Linked DNA regions of Homo sapiens: all the other regions are linked to region 4. The links are contacts of gene promoters, found by promoter capture Hi-C in human tissues and cell types (Jung and others, 2019). All regions are on one chromosome and are shown on one strand. Each heading gives the region's core, a stretch centred on a gene start or on the middle of the fragment in contact. The rest is flanking DNA. Distances are from core to core; before and after follow the strand shown.

Region 1 (2,700 bases), core at 125-2,624, 530 kb after region 4:
GGGGAAAAAGCTGCCGAAGCTGAGGACGGTTTTCCTTCTATTTCACTCTCAGGAAAACTCCTGGGGCCTTTGCTGGATAGCTTTGCTTTTTGCACACGTGACCAAGGTGCATAATGTTCAATAAAGATCTGTGGGCTTGAAGAGTCTGGTTTTCAAGTCCAAATTAGAAGGGTCGGCCCTGGAGAGAAGCCACAGACTTGGAGGCCGGGGCAGTGTGCGTCCAAGTCTCAGCTCTGCAGAGTCTCAGTGTGCCCTCTATTGTAGAATGCGGAGTTGACAGCTACGCAGTAAGGTTGTTGCTCAGGTCCCAACACAAACCTAGACCTGTAGGTTTGTGTACAGATGCAATCATTAAAGGTGAGACGGGCATTCCACCCACCAGGCAGGCAGCCCGGACATGCTTCTCAGATGTGCTCTCTCCTCTTCCCACAGCCGGATTTTCCAACTCCTACTCCAGCAACCCCTTCCTCACTCTAAGCAGATGACCTTAGCCCTTATTTCACAGGGAAACAGAAGCCCTCAGACAGGAACCTCAGGATCCTGCCTCCCCATCTACAAATCTACCTTTCTATCCATCCTTCCTTCCAGTCCTGAAAGGAAGCGCCACTCCCCTCTGTGGGCCCAAATCCCTCCCCGCCTTGCTAGGACTTCCTAGCGATTGCTCCCGGCTCCCCTCTCTTGACCGGGGTCTTCCTGTTAGCAATTAAATCAGCTGCAAAAGCCAAACGTATTCCAGGGCGACGAATTCTCAAAGATTCTATAGACCTCTCCATAAAATATTCCTCATTCTCCGGCTCCAGGACAGATACTATGATAATAGCTGAAACCACAGTTCGTGTTTCCTGTGCCTCAACGCGCGCGGGGCCGAACGCTGCTTTCCACAGAGCTAGGTCCACGGCCCCGCTGGACTGAGGCTCGGTCAGGGCCCGGCCGGGCTGCGGGATCGCTTCGCCCCCACGCGCTCCGCAGCCCTTTCCCCGACCAGGAGGCGCTGGTGTTTGGCTCCCCGAGACCCGATCGCCGCCCCGGGACCCGATCGCCGGATCGCTGCCCCGGGACCCGATCGTTGCCCCAGGAAAGGGCCGGAAAACGTCGCCGCGGGGGAAGGCTCCGAGGGGCTCGGGCGCCCGCCGGGCATTTAAACCGCGCGCCCGGCCGCCGGGGCTCCCTGCGCGGGACGCGACATCCGCCCCGGGTTAAAGAGCTCGAGCCAGCCCTCTTCAGGCCGCCAGGGCCTCCCCTCCCGCGGGACCCACCGTCCGCCCCGCAGGGCAGGCAGAAGGGGTGTGGGGCAGAAACCAGCGGACATCGCCCCGCACTCACCGCCGCCGCTCCCCATCGCCGCGCTCGCGTCGCTGCCGCCGGAGCCCGCCTGAGAGCGCGCCCGCGCCCCGGCCGGAGCGCGCGTAGCCCTCGCGCAGGCGCAGACCCCGCCCCGCCGCCCACCCCAGTTTTCAAACGCACCCGGCCCTCCCATTGGCCTGCCCGGGGGGGCCGCCGCCGGCCCCGCCCATGTCCCGCCCTGTGCTCGCCTCATTTACCGCCCTCCACGCCCTCCCCGCCTGCTCCGGGACCCGCCATTGGCCGCGCCAGGACGCGAATTCGAACATTGGCCGCTGATTGGTGGAACCCGCGTGGCCGCCCCGCCTCCCCAACGGGGCTGGGGTCCCGTAGGAGCGCTTCCCGGCCGGCGGGCAGGGGTTTGTGGGCGTCCCCTCCCGGCCGCATGGGTTCGGGCTTCGCCGCTGACCCCGGCGACCGGCATCTGCGGTGCCAGATGGGCTGCGAAGGCGCACGCCTGCGGCCAGGGGAAAGAGGACTCCTTGGCGTCCCTCGCAGTCGCGGCCGTGATCCAGCCTGGGACAGCCTCGACGTGGCGCTTCTAAGACGAGGCCGTGCCCTGCCCGGGTCCCGGGGTCGCTCCTGGGCCCGCGACCCTCACCCCCAGCTTGCACGGCCTTCCCTTCCGCCGCCTGCTTCAGGTGGAGACCCTTGGGTTTGTGGCTGAGCCGCTGCTGGGCGGGGATGCTGGCCGGGATCGTGGTAGAGAAAGAGGAGGTCGGAGCTGACGCTGGGAAGTCTCCCCCGCGGAACGCTGACCCCTTCTTCCCGCGAAACGTGGCGCACCCTGGACGCCTCAGTGCTCCAGCCCCGGGGCAAGCCCTCCCCATCACTTTGGCCAGATGCTGCCCCCTGTCTGGCCTCCTCGGCTGCTACCTGGAGCTGCTCGCCGCGGGAAGTGTCGTATCTGCTCACTCTTGTCTTGGGCAGTGCCCATCTGAGCTGTCCTTCAGGAGTCAGCCACACCGCACCCCTTTTACGGCACAGGCTGTCAAGGGGAAGACTCGCAGCCTCCTGACTGTCTGGTGGAGGACAGAGGGGGCTTTTCCTGGGGAAGGCAGGGGCCTGGGCCAAGGCTGCCCACCCCTCCCTCACGCTTCCCTCAGTCTGCACCCTTCCATCCTTCCGGGTCCCCATAGAACTCCTTCAAGTACTGGGCCTGCCCTGGGCACACAGACAGGAGCCCTGGCGTGCAGGCTTCAGCCGGCCTGGGGCAAGAGACAGAGTAAACAGGTGATCACAGCACAGGGTACAGAAGAGTCCGTGGCCCCAGAGAGGGTCTGGAAGTTGGGAATATTCCCTGTCCCGGAATCAGGAAGCGGGTGAAGGAGGGTGAAGAGAGGACAGGCTGAGCGAGTT
Region 2 (2,700 bases), core at 14-2,513, 620 kb after region 4:
GGTCCGGCCGCTGGCGGCGCTCGGGGACCCATTGGCCCCGGCCCGCGGCAACTGTCGGCCCCGCGCGGCGCCCGCCCTCATGCTGGAGCCCGGGAGTCCCTCACTCCACCTCTCCCTGCCACGCCAAGGGGGCCCGCCCCTCCCAGGCTCTCCTGCCTGGGGCGACCCAGTCCCACGACCCGGTCCGGCCCAGGGACACCCCGACCCACCTCCCCACTCCCGTCCCGTTAGACCGCGACCCGTCCCTGGGACCGCCTAATGTGACACGCCCGGGACCCTCCCTGCAGGCGACTCCCTGCAGGGCCCCCGCCCTGGACACTCCCTCCAGGTGACCCCGTTCCGCTCGCTCCGTGAGGTGACCCCGACCCTCTCCGGACCACCTCCTCAGGTGACCCCGACCCTCTCCGGACCCTCCCCGACCCTCCCCTCAGGTGAACCCGACCCTCCCCGGACCATCCCGTCGGGTGACCCCAACCATCCCCGAACCCCCCCACCCTCCCCTCAGGTGACCCCGACCCTCTCTGGACCCTCCTCACAGGCGGCCCCGCCCCACCCCGGGACCCTCCCGCCAGGTGACCCCGACAAGGCCGGGCCCTCCTGCCTGAGGTGACTCCTACCCGGCTGGGGACCCCCGAGGCCTCCCTCGCTCCTTAAGTGAGGGCGACTCCGCTCATCCCGGGACACCGCGCCTTCTCCTGTAAACTCGACGCCTGCCCCGACGGCCGAATTCCAGAAGGTTCCTCGCCGCCGCCTCGCCTTCGGTCGCGCCCCAGCGCCCGGCCAGAGGCGGGGAAGCCCTTCCCCCGGTGCCAGGAGTGACGAGGGCCCAAGGAAAGACAGTGCGTGAGGAGAAATGGAGAAACGGCCAAAGTCGAGTTTCCGGGTGTGAAGACTTCCACTGCTGCGAAACGCACGTGCGCAGAGTCATTCCTGTCAGAGGCCACCGCGCCCTCGCTCGGCTACCGCCGCTGCGCGCCCCCTGCTGGACATAGGCGCGGGCACAGAGCAGTGCGCAAGCACGGGCTGCCGCGCGGCCGGGTGCGAACCGCGTACTCGCAGGGTGGCTGACTGCGCACGCGCAAGTCAGAGCGCCCTCTGCCGGGCATGGGCGACATGCAGGGGGCACCGCGCAGGCGCGGGGTTGGGCTGGCCGGAGCGGCCGAGGCGGCCGGGGGTGGACCGGGCACCTGCAGGGGCGGCCGACTGCGCACGCGCCATCCGCGGCGCCCCCTGCAGGAGCCGGAGCGGCCGCTGCGTCCGCCAGTAGCGGGTTGCAGGCGCACCCTCCCCTCCAGGGCGGCCACGCAGCTGTCAGTGCCGCCGCCACTGCGAGGCTGGAGCGGAGCCCGGGTGGCCGAGGGAGGGGACCCCGCGAGAGGGCCGCGCGCCGGCCGCCGCCGCCCCGGCGCCCAGGCTCGGTGAGTGCCGCCGGGACCCGCCGCTCGCGCGCTCGTTCCCGGGGCTTGCGGTCCCCACCCGGGTCCGCCCTTCCCACCCTCGCCGGCCAGCTCGGGCCTCGGGCCCCCCCCAGCTCCGGCCTGGCCTGCGGGCCCCTCCCGCGACCCCGCATCCCCTCCGGCCGCGCCCGCGCCCGCCCCTCCTGCCGCGGCCTCGGCTCCGGGCGCTCCCTGCAGGTGCCGCTCCCTCAGCGTCGGCTCCCATCCGAGCCTTGGGCGTGTCCCGCACTGCGGGCAGTGCCTGAGCCCGCGCCGCGCGGGGAAGCTCGACCCTGCGGAGACTCGGCACGGCCCGGGCCCTCTGTGTGCGCCCAGAAGGTGGATATGTAGCGACCGACAGCCCCGGCCCCGAGGGATGCAGGCGTCCGCCGCGCACTTGCGGAGATGGCGCCGCTTTCCGGCCGCAGGGATGCCGGGCGCGCGGTGGCAAAGCCGCCCGGGTTGGATTCCGCCTGCTCCCACCCTCTGGTTCCGAGGAGCCTCCAAATCCGAATCCAAGGCCCACGGTCCGCGGCGGGCGTTTGCTGCGCCCTCCACTGTGTGGGAACGGGAAAGGGGAGCCGCTAGTCCAGGCGGAGGGGCTTGTGGCAGTCGCCGGAGGCCGCGTTCTCGGCGCCCTCGGTCAGGACGCCTGTGTGCATCGCGTCCGTGTGTCTTGGCTCTGTTCCAAGCCGGCTCCACGCTTCAGAAGGGCCGGGACGGCCTTATGGTCAGGGGCGTGGGGAAGGCGCTTGGTGTCTGTCGCACAGATGAAGCCATGTCCTCAGGGGGTAATTGCCGCTTGTTCTCCGGGTTACGTCCTGGACTGTGCACTCCGGGAAGGCGTCGATTGGATCTTGTTGGGGTTTGTGTTCCTGGAACTCCAGAAATGCCCGCTGAGTGAGTAGCCGAGACCCCGCGACAGCATGGAGCCCAGGCAGGGAGCACGTGGGAGAGGTTCACTCTTCTCCTGGGCATCCCGTCATTTTATTCAGATAGTCTGGGCGCTGCCTTTTGTAAACTTGAAAAGACTAAGACTGTTTTAGAAAGTTTGCCTCATGAGAAATGTAAGAGAAAGGGAAAAATAGATAAAAATGGATGTCATGGGAATCTCCCCCACACTTTCATTTTTAACTTCTTAGATAATTTTTCTTTTAAATTGAACCTTTGCTAACTCTACCTGAAAAACAGGACGACGTCTCTCCCTTCCTAAAGTGACTTACCACCATTCTGACCAGACAGGCTTTTGGAACAGGAGAGGGTA
Region 3 (2,700 bases), core at 13-2,512, 530 kb before region 4:
GGCCCGTAGGCCTCTGGCGCGCTCGAACTTCTGGTCCCTGGAGCGGAAATAGCGTTTGGTGTGGCTGTGTGGGGTTCCCAGGGCCTTGCCGAAATGCCGGTACACCTGTCGGCCCTTGCGAAGACCGGAGAGTAGGACGGGGCCGCCGTCCTTGAGGGAGTCCAGGGCCAGCTGATCGAAAGTCAGGATCTTGGCCCCCACCCTGAGGATGCCGCTGTGGGCCGGCTGGTCACGGGCAGCGCACACACCTTAAGTTTGGGCACCTCCTGAACCCTCGCGTCATCCGTTAAGCGTCCCCACAACCACGGCCGTTTTGTTTTCCCAGCCAGGAAGCTTCATCTTCCGGATCATCCGGGAAACGGACAGAGGTGGCCGGTTGGTGCGACTCATAAACAACCTCTTCAGCACAACCTGGTTGAATGTGGAGTTAGTTCGTCTGGACGGTAACCTGTACAGCTTGACCAACAAACAGCCTCAGTTAGATATCCTGGCTCTTGGGCTCTTTGCGCCGAACCTTTAGGTCCTTCTTGTGGCGGACGTCAGCTCCCATGATGGCGCTTCCTGCTTGGCCAGGTCCGGAAAGATGAATGTTTAACTTTTTTTTTTTTTTGAGACGGAGTCTCGCTCTGCAGCCCAGGCTGGAGTGCAGTGGCGCGATCTGGGCTCACTGCAAGCTTCGCCTCCCGGGTTCACGCCATTCTCCTGCCTCAGCCTCCTGAGTAACTGGGACTACAGGCTCCCGCCACGACGCCCGGCTAATTTTTTTGTATTTTTAGTAGAGACGGGGTTTCACCGTGTTAGCCAGGATGGTCTCGATCTCCTGACCTCATGATCCGCCCACCCCGGCCTCCCACAGACCTCAACTGATCAGCCTGCCTCGGCCTCCCACAGTGCTGGGATTACAGGCATGAGCCACCGCCCCCAGCCCCTTTTCAGCATTTTCAAAGTACCGACCTAGGTCTTCCTAGGTCTGTACTCCTGAACCCTCATTTCCCACCCCAGATGAGGAAGCTGGCCCCAAGAGATCACCTGAGAGAAGGACTCTCCAGTTTGCCAGAGCTGTCTGTTTTATGTGGCCTGACCCCAGCCAGAGGGACCAGGGACTTCCCCCAGGGTTCTGGCCCCTTCCCATGCCTTTCTTTCACCCTGCCCTTGCCTTGGGCACTGTCCTCTCCCAAACTAGGGGTCCAGGAAGGCTGGGAGTCTTCCCCGTGATGTCATAAGAACCAGTTGCCAGGGGAGACCTGCCAATGTACCCCCTAGGCAGGGGAGAGCAGGGCCCTGCTGCACCCAAGTCCTGGTTGCTCCTCCCCACCACACTGGCCCTCCATGGAAGCCTTGGTCTGTGCATTTTCTGAGCTGCACATAAGAGAAGGTGCCGGGCTGTGGGGAGGAGTGGCAGGAAGAGAGATAGGCTTCTGTCCCCACCTGGGCCCAAAGCCGAGGGGTGGCCTCAGGGACATGTATGCTTGGGAGAGGGGAATGGCCACTGGGCCAGGCCATGAGCCCCTGGGCTGGCCACTTTCTCTCAAACCCACTGTGCAATTTCTCTGTGGGGACCAGAATACTCTTCCTAGGGTAGCGGGCAGAACAGGGTAGTAGAAAGGACTTGAGGTCCTGAAAGCACTCTTAGTACCAAGGCCCGAGGCTTCCCAGGCCTCCCTGTTGGTTGGGAGTGGGAAGAGGAGTCGTGTCTTGGGCATGGGCAGGGGAGGCAGTGGACTGAGACTATTTGACACACAGGTAAACTGAGGCCAGGTTGGCTGGGGGTGTAGCCCATCATGTGAGCTGGTCTCAGAGGTATGTGACTGCACCCTCCCCTCATGGCTGCTGTGGGGGGCTGGCCACCACCCTCCCGCTGTCTCCTCTGCAGATGCAGTGAGCCAGGCCCAAGGACGCCCCGGCCACCCTGACGCACCCCCCAACATCTACGAGGGGGGCCTGGGGTCCCCGCAGCCGCAGTGCCCCAGTGCCCAGGGAAGCAAGCCCAAGAACTTCCGGCTGCGCCACCTCCGGGGCCTGGGCCTCTACCTGGAGAGCCACCCGCCACCCACTGGCCAGTGTGAGAGCCACTGGCTGGGCCGGCTTATGGCTGGGGGCTGCCTGCCACAGCCTGAGGGCACAGCCTGGGCCCTGGACCTGCCACAGGGGACTCTGGGCCCACGTAACAGCCTCTGTTCAGCCCTTCTGGAAGCCCGATTGCCCAGGGACAGCCTGGGAAGCAGTGGTGAGCTCTGTCAAGGCAGGACTGGGCACGGGGGAAGACCCTAGGGGATGGTTGGGCTGGGGCCTCAGGCGGGCCCTTCTCCACTCCCAAGCCTCCACAGTGGCACCATGCCCCAGAAGGCCAAGATCTTGATGAATCTGTCCCCATCTCTGCATCACGCACAGCTAAGCGGGGTCTGGAGAATCCACCAGGGACAAAGCGGTGCGAGAAAAAGGGAGGATCTGGGAGGGAGGGCTGGGTGACTGCCCCAGCTCCACACTCGGTGAGGGGCCTTGGAATCTGTCTCCCTTGCTGGGCCTCAGTTTTCTCACTTGTAAAATGAGGGTTCAGGTTAGATGAGGGTCCTTCCAGCTTGAACCATTCTGTTCCCTCAACCTCCTCCCTCCCCTGGGGATTCTGTTAAGGAGGAAGCATTGCCCTCCTCCCTTCTGTTTTCAAGAATATCGGATTCTGGAAACCCCAGGGTGGGCTGC
Region 4 (2,700 bases), core at 61-2,560:
GTAGCCAGGCTGGTCTCGAACTCCTGACCTCAGATGATCCGCCTGCCTTGGCCTCCCAAAGTGCTGGGATTACAGGCTGAGCCACCGCGCCTGGCCTCCAACCCCACTTAAAAGCAGAAGTGAGCTCCTGAGCTTTGCGGCTCTCCTCCCGCTGGGTCCATCCTGCCTCAGACCGTAGCTGTGGCTCTGAACCCCAAAATAAGTTGTATGACAAGAGCCCCACTCTGACAAGGCCCCGCCCATTCGGCCCCCGCTCTGACCAGGCCCCGCCCATACGGGTCCTTTGAGTGCCCAGGTCCGTTTCTCTCCTGGCCCTGAACTGGAGCTCTGCAGAAATTGTTCACCTGAGGAGGATCCCTTTTGCGCCAGGGTTCCGCGCGCCCCGCCCCGCCCCGCCCCGCCCCTCATTCTGGCCCCGCCCCCAGGTTCTCCAGGAGGCTGGGCTGCCAGTCCACGGCAGACCTCCACCCCGCCCGCACGGAGGCCCCGCTTCGGGCCATCCCTGCAATGGTGAGCCCAGCCTCGCCCCCAGCGCAGGCCCCGCCCCTCACCGGCAGAAGTTGTGCGCGCCCAGCCCCCAGCGGCCGTGGGGGTCGCTGGCGCTGCTGTAGCTGTGTTGCTGCGTCTGGTCCCAGAAGAGGCACGGGCGGCCCGCCCCGCGCGGGCCAGTGCGGTTCTGGTGGCCGCGGTAGTCAGCCCCATTCACCTGGAAGCATTCGGACAGGCCTGCACGGCAAAGGCAGGGCCTGGGGAGGTCCGGACCCACGCCGGGCATCCTCGCGCCCCTACGCCACCTCCCGCCTGGGTCCCCAGCCAGCGACCCCGCACCCGCCCCTGCAGGAGCCCTCGGGCTGCTCAGCTGCTCCGGCCACCTGCTCTGTCCCCCTCCCTAGCCTTGGGGGCCTGGCCCTGGGGGCGGAGGCCGAGGAAGGGGTGGTGAACACGGCCCGACAGCCGTGCGGGGACTTACCTGGACTGTGCAGGCTCCCAGCCGAGGCCCCACGCGGCTGCAGCAGCGGGAGGAAGAGGAGAAAGAGGAAGCCCTGCAGGGCTTGTGTCCCCATCGCTCTCAACCAAGGATAGGTCACCCTCGCCCGGACACGGCCCGGGCTGCCCCCGGGGTCGCTTCGGGGTCTCCCAGGAGACCTAGGGGGCGTTGTCCTCTGACAGTCTCCCCTCGTCCGACTCTGAGCCGCGCTTTCCGTCTGGGGTGGGTAAATCTCTCCTGGGGGTCTTTGCCTCCCAGGGCCTCTGCCCCTAGAGGCGTCTCTCTGTCCCTGTCCCTACCCGGGTCTCTCCGGGGGGAATCTGGCCGGGGGCGTTCTCAGTCTCTGTCTCAGCGAGCTCTGGGCGGTGCCTCAGCCTCTACGCCCGCCCCCTCCCACTGAGCCTAGCTCTCGGCGTCTCCCTCGCCCAGGTCTCCAACGGGCTGACTCCTGCCCGCCTCGCATCCCTCCGTGGGTCCCTCCCCCTGGGTCTCTCCCTCCCCCCATGGGAGGCCGGGAAGCCCCGCCCAGCACTGGAGCGGAGGCAGCAGGTCCAGACGCCTCCCACGCCCGTTCCCCCGACCCCGGGCGTCCAGCGCTTCCCGGCCCCCTCTCCCTCAGGTCGGTGCCGGTTCAAGTGGGAAGGTGTGGAGGGGGACAGGCGGGGCAAGCGGACGGAAGGCCCTTAAAATGGGAGATACAGAACCCCCTCACGTGGTCGCACGCGCCCCAGGACACCCGGAATGTCCGAGTTACAAGCGCCCTCCTCCCAGTGCACGCACGCGCTCGCACTCTCTCCCATTCATTGCCAGGCGCTCACGCGCACACTTTCTTCGGATCCGCACGCCCCTCCCGCCCCTGGTCCAGATGCCGCTGGCCTGACGGAGGAAGCTCCACTCCCTGCCCCCGCGCCCACGAGACAGGCGGGAGTCGTGGACGCTCAGTCCGGGACAGGCAGGGGCAGCTGGTGTCTGGGGAGAAAGGCAGCTGCGCCCCAGGTCCCAGTCTGTCCCCTCCTCCTCCCCCTGCCCCGCCCTTCCCTGGGACCCCCAGCCCAGACTCTCCCGAGCCTTCACACTGCAGTGGAATTCCCCCAGCCGTGCCCCCCACCTGGCGGGGGAGGGGGAGGGGAGCAGGCCCAGGCAGGCGTGGGGGGAAATTCCCCGCCCCCTCCCCCTGGGCCCGACTCCTCCGAGTCCTCTGATCTCCCAGCGCCACCCGCCCGCTGCCCCCAGGGCTTGGGGGGAGGCCAGCGCAGGTGCGTGGGAGGGCGGAGGCGGGGGCCGGGGGAAGGAACTGGTGGGGGCCGGGCGCCCAGAGCGGCCCCGCCCCGCCCAGACCTCTTTGCCCCTCAGTCCAGCCTGCCCAGCCCGCACCAGGCCCTCGCCAAGCTGTCGAGCCCAGGCCGACCAGTCCCCGCCCTGCAGCCCCCACACCGTCTCTGCCCCGGTGTCGATGGAGAAGAAAGATGGGGTTCAGGGAGGTTCTGTCAGGCCCAGGCACCCACTGCGGTGCTGGGACCCGCGAGGATCTTCCAGCTGGCGCCTCACGCGAGTGTGCTCTGGAGGAGGGGCGTGGAGCCGAGGTGGGGGCATTTGAAGGAGATGGACTTGCTGAGACTCTAGGCCAGGGTCCTGGTCGCCTCCTCCGGGAGCCCTCTCAGAGGCCAGGCTGGCCCGGCTCACTGAGCCCTGAGCTGGGGCCTCCAGCACCC

What was found. The method cuts DNA at HindIII sites, captures the fragments that hold promoters and counts their contacts. A contact is called where the count stands out against the background at its distance.
Region 1: the fragment with the promoter of CCNF here is called in contact with the fragment with the promoter of KREMEN2 in region 4 in 2 of the 25 tissues and cell types used here (heart left ventricle and lymphoblastoid cells).
Region 2: the fragment with the promoter of ABCA3 here is called in contact with the fragment with the promoter of KREMEN2 in region 4 in 5 of the 25 tissues and cell types used here (aorta, heart right ventricle, mesenchymal stem cells and 2 more).
Region 3: the fragment with the promoter of C16orf90 here is called in contact with the fragment with the promoter of KREMEN2 in region 4 in 1 of the 25 tissues and cell types used here (spleen).

What each region holds. Positions count from the first base shown.
Region 1 is chr16:2,428,121-2,430,820 of GRCh38, reverse strand. CCNF (cyclin F) reads right to left here and starts at 1,374. Exons shown (of 17, transcript NM_001761.3): 1 at 1,324-1,374. The coding sequence starts at 1,339. RefSeq lists silencers at 999-1,048, 1,059-1,908 and enhancers at 2,119-2,298, 1,734-2,313. The HindIII fragment of the contact is 14,340 bases long and covers 1-2,700 here.
Region 2 is chr16:2,339,291-2,341,990 of GRCh38, reverse strand. It overlaps ABCA3 (ATP binding cassette subfamily A member 3), which reads left to right and starts at 1,263. Exons shown (of 33, transcript NM_001089.3): 1 at 1,263-1,418. It also overlaps the pseudogene ABCA17P. RefSeq lists silencers at 953-1,412, 1,583-1,642. The HindIII fragment of the contact is 11,234 bases long and covers 1-2,700 here.
Region 3 is chr16:3,494,051-3,496,750 of GRCh38, reverse strand. It overlaps C16orf90 (chromosome 16 open reading frame 90), which reads left to right and starts at 1,262. Exons shown (of 3, transcript NM_001080524.2): 1 at 1,262-1,375; 2 at 1,874-2,227. The coding sequence starts at 1,330. It also overlaps a transcript of CLUAP1 not described here and the pseudogene RPL18P12. The HindIII fragment of the contact is 9,668 bases long and covers 505-2,700 here.
Region 4 is chr16:2,962,885-2,965,584 of GRCh38, reverse strand. It overlaps KREMEN2 (kringle containing transmembrane protein 2), which reads right to left and starts at 1,310. Exons shown (of 9, transcript NM_172229.3): 1 at 971-1,310; 2 at 552-726. The coding sequence starts at 1,064. RefSeq lists enhancers at 1-493, 2,462-2,591, 2,078-2,700 and silencers at 292-661, 732-981, 1,512-1,591, 2,142-2,271, 2,302-2,381. The HindIII fragment of the contact is 31,540 bases long and covers 1-2,700 here.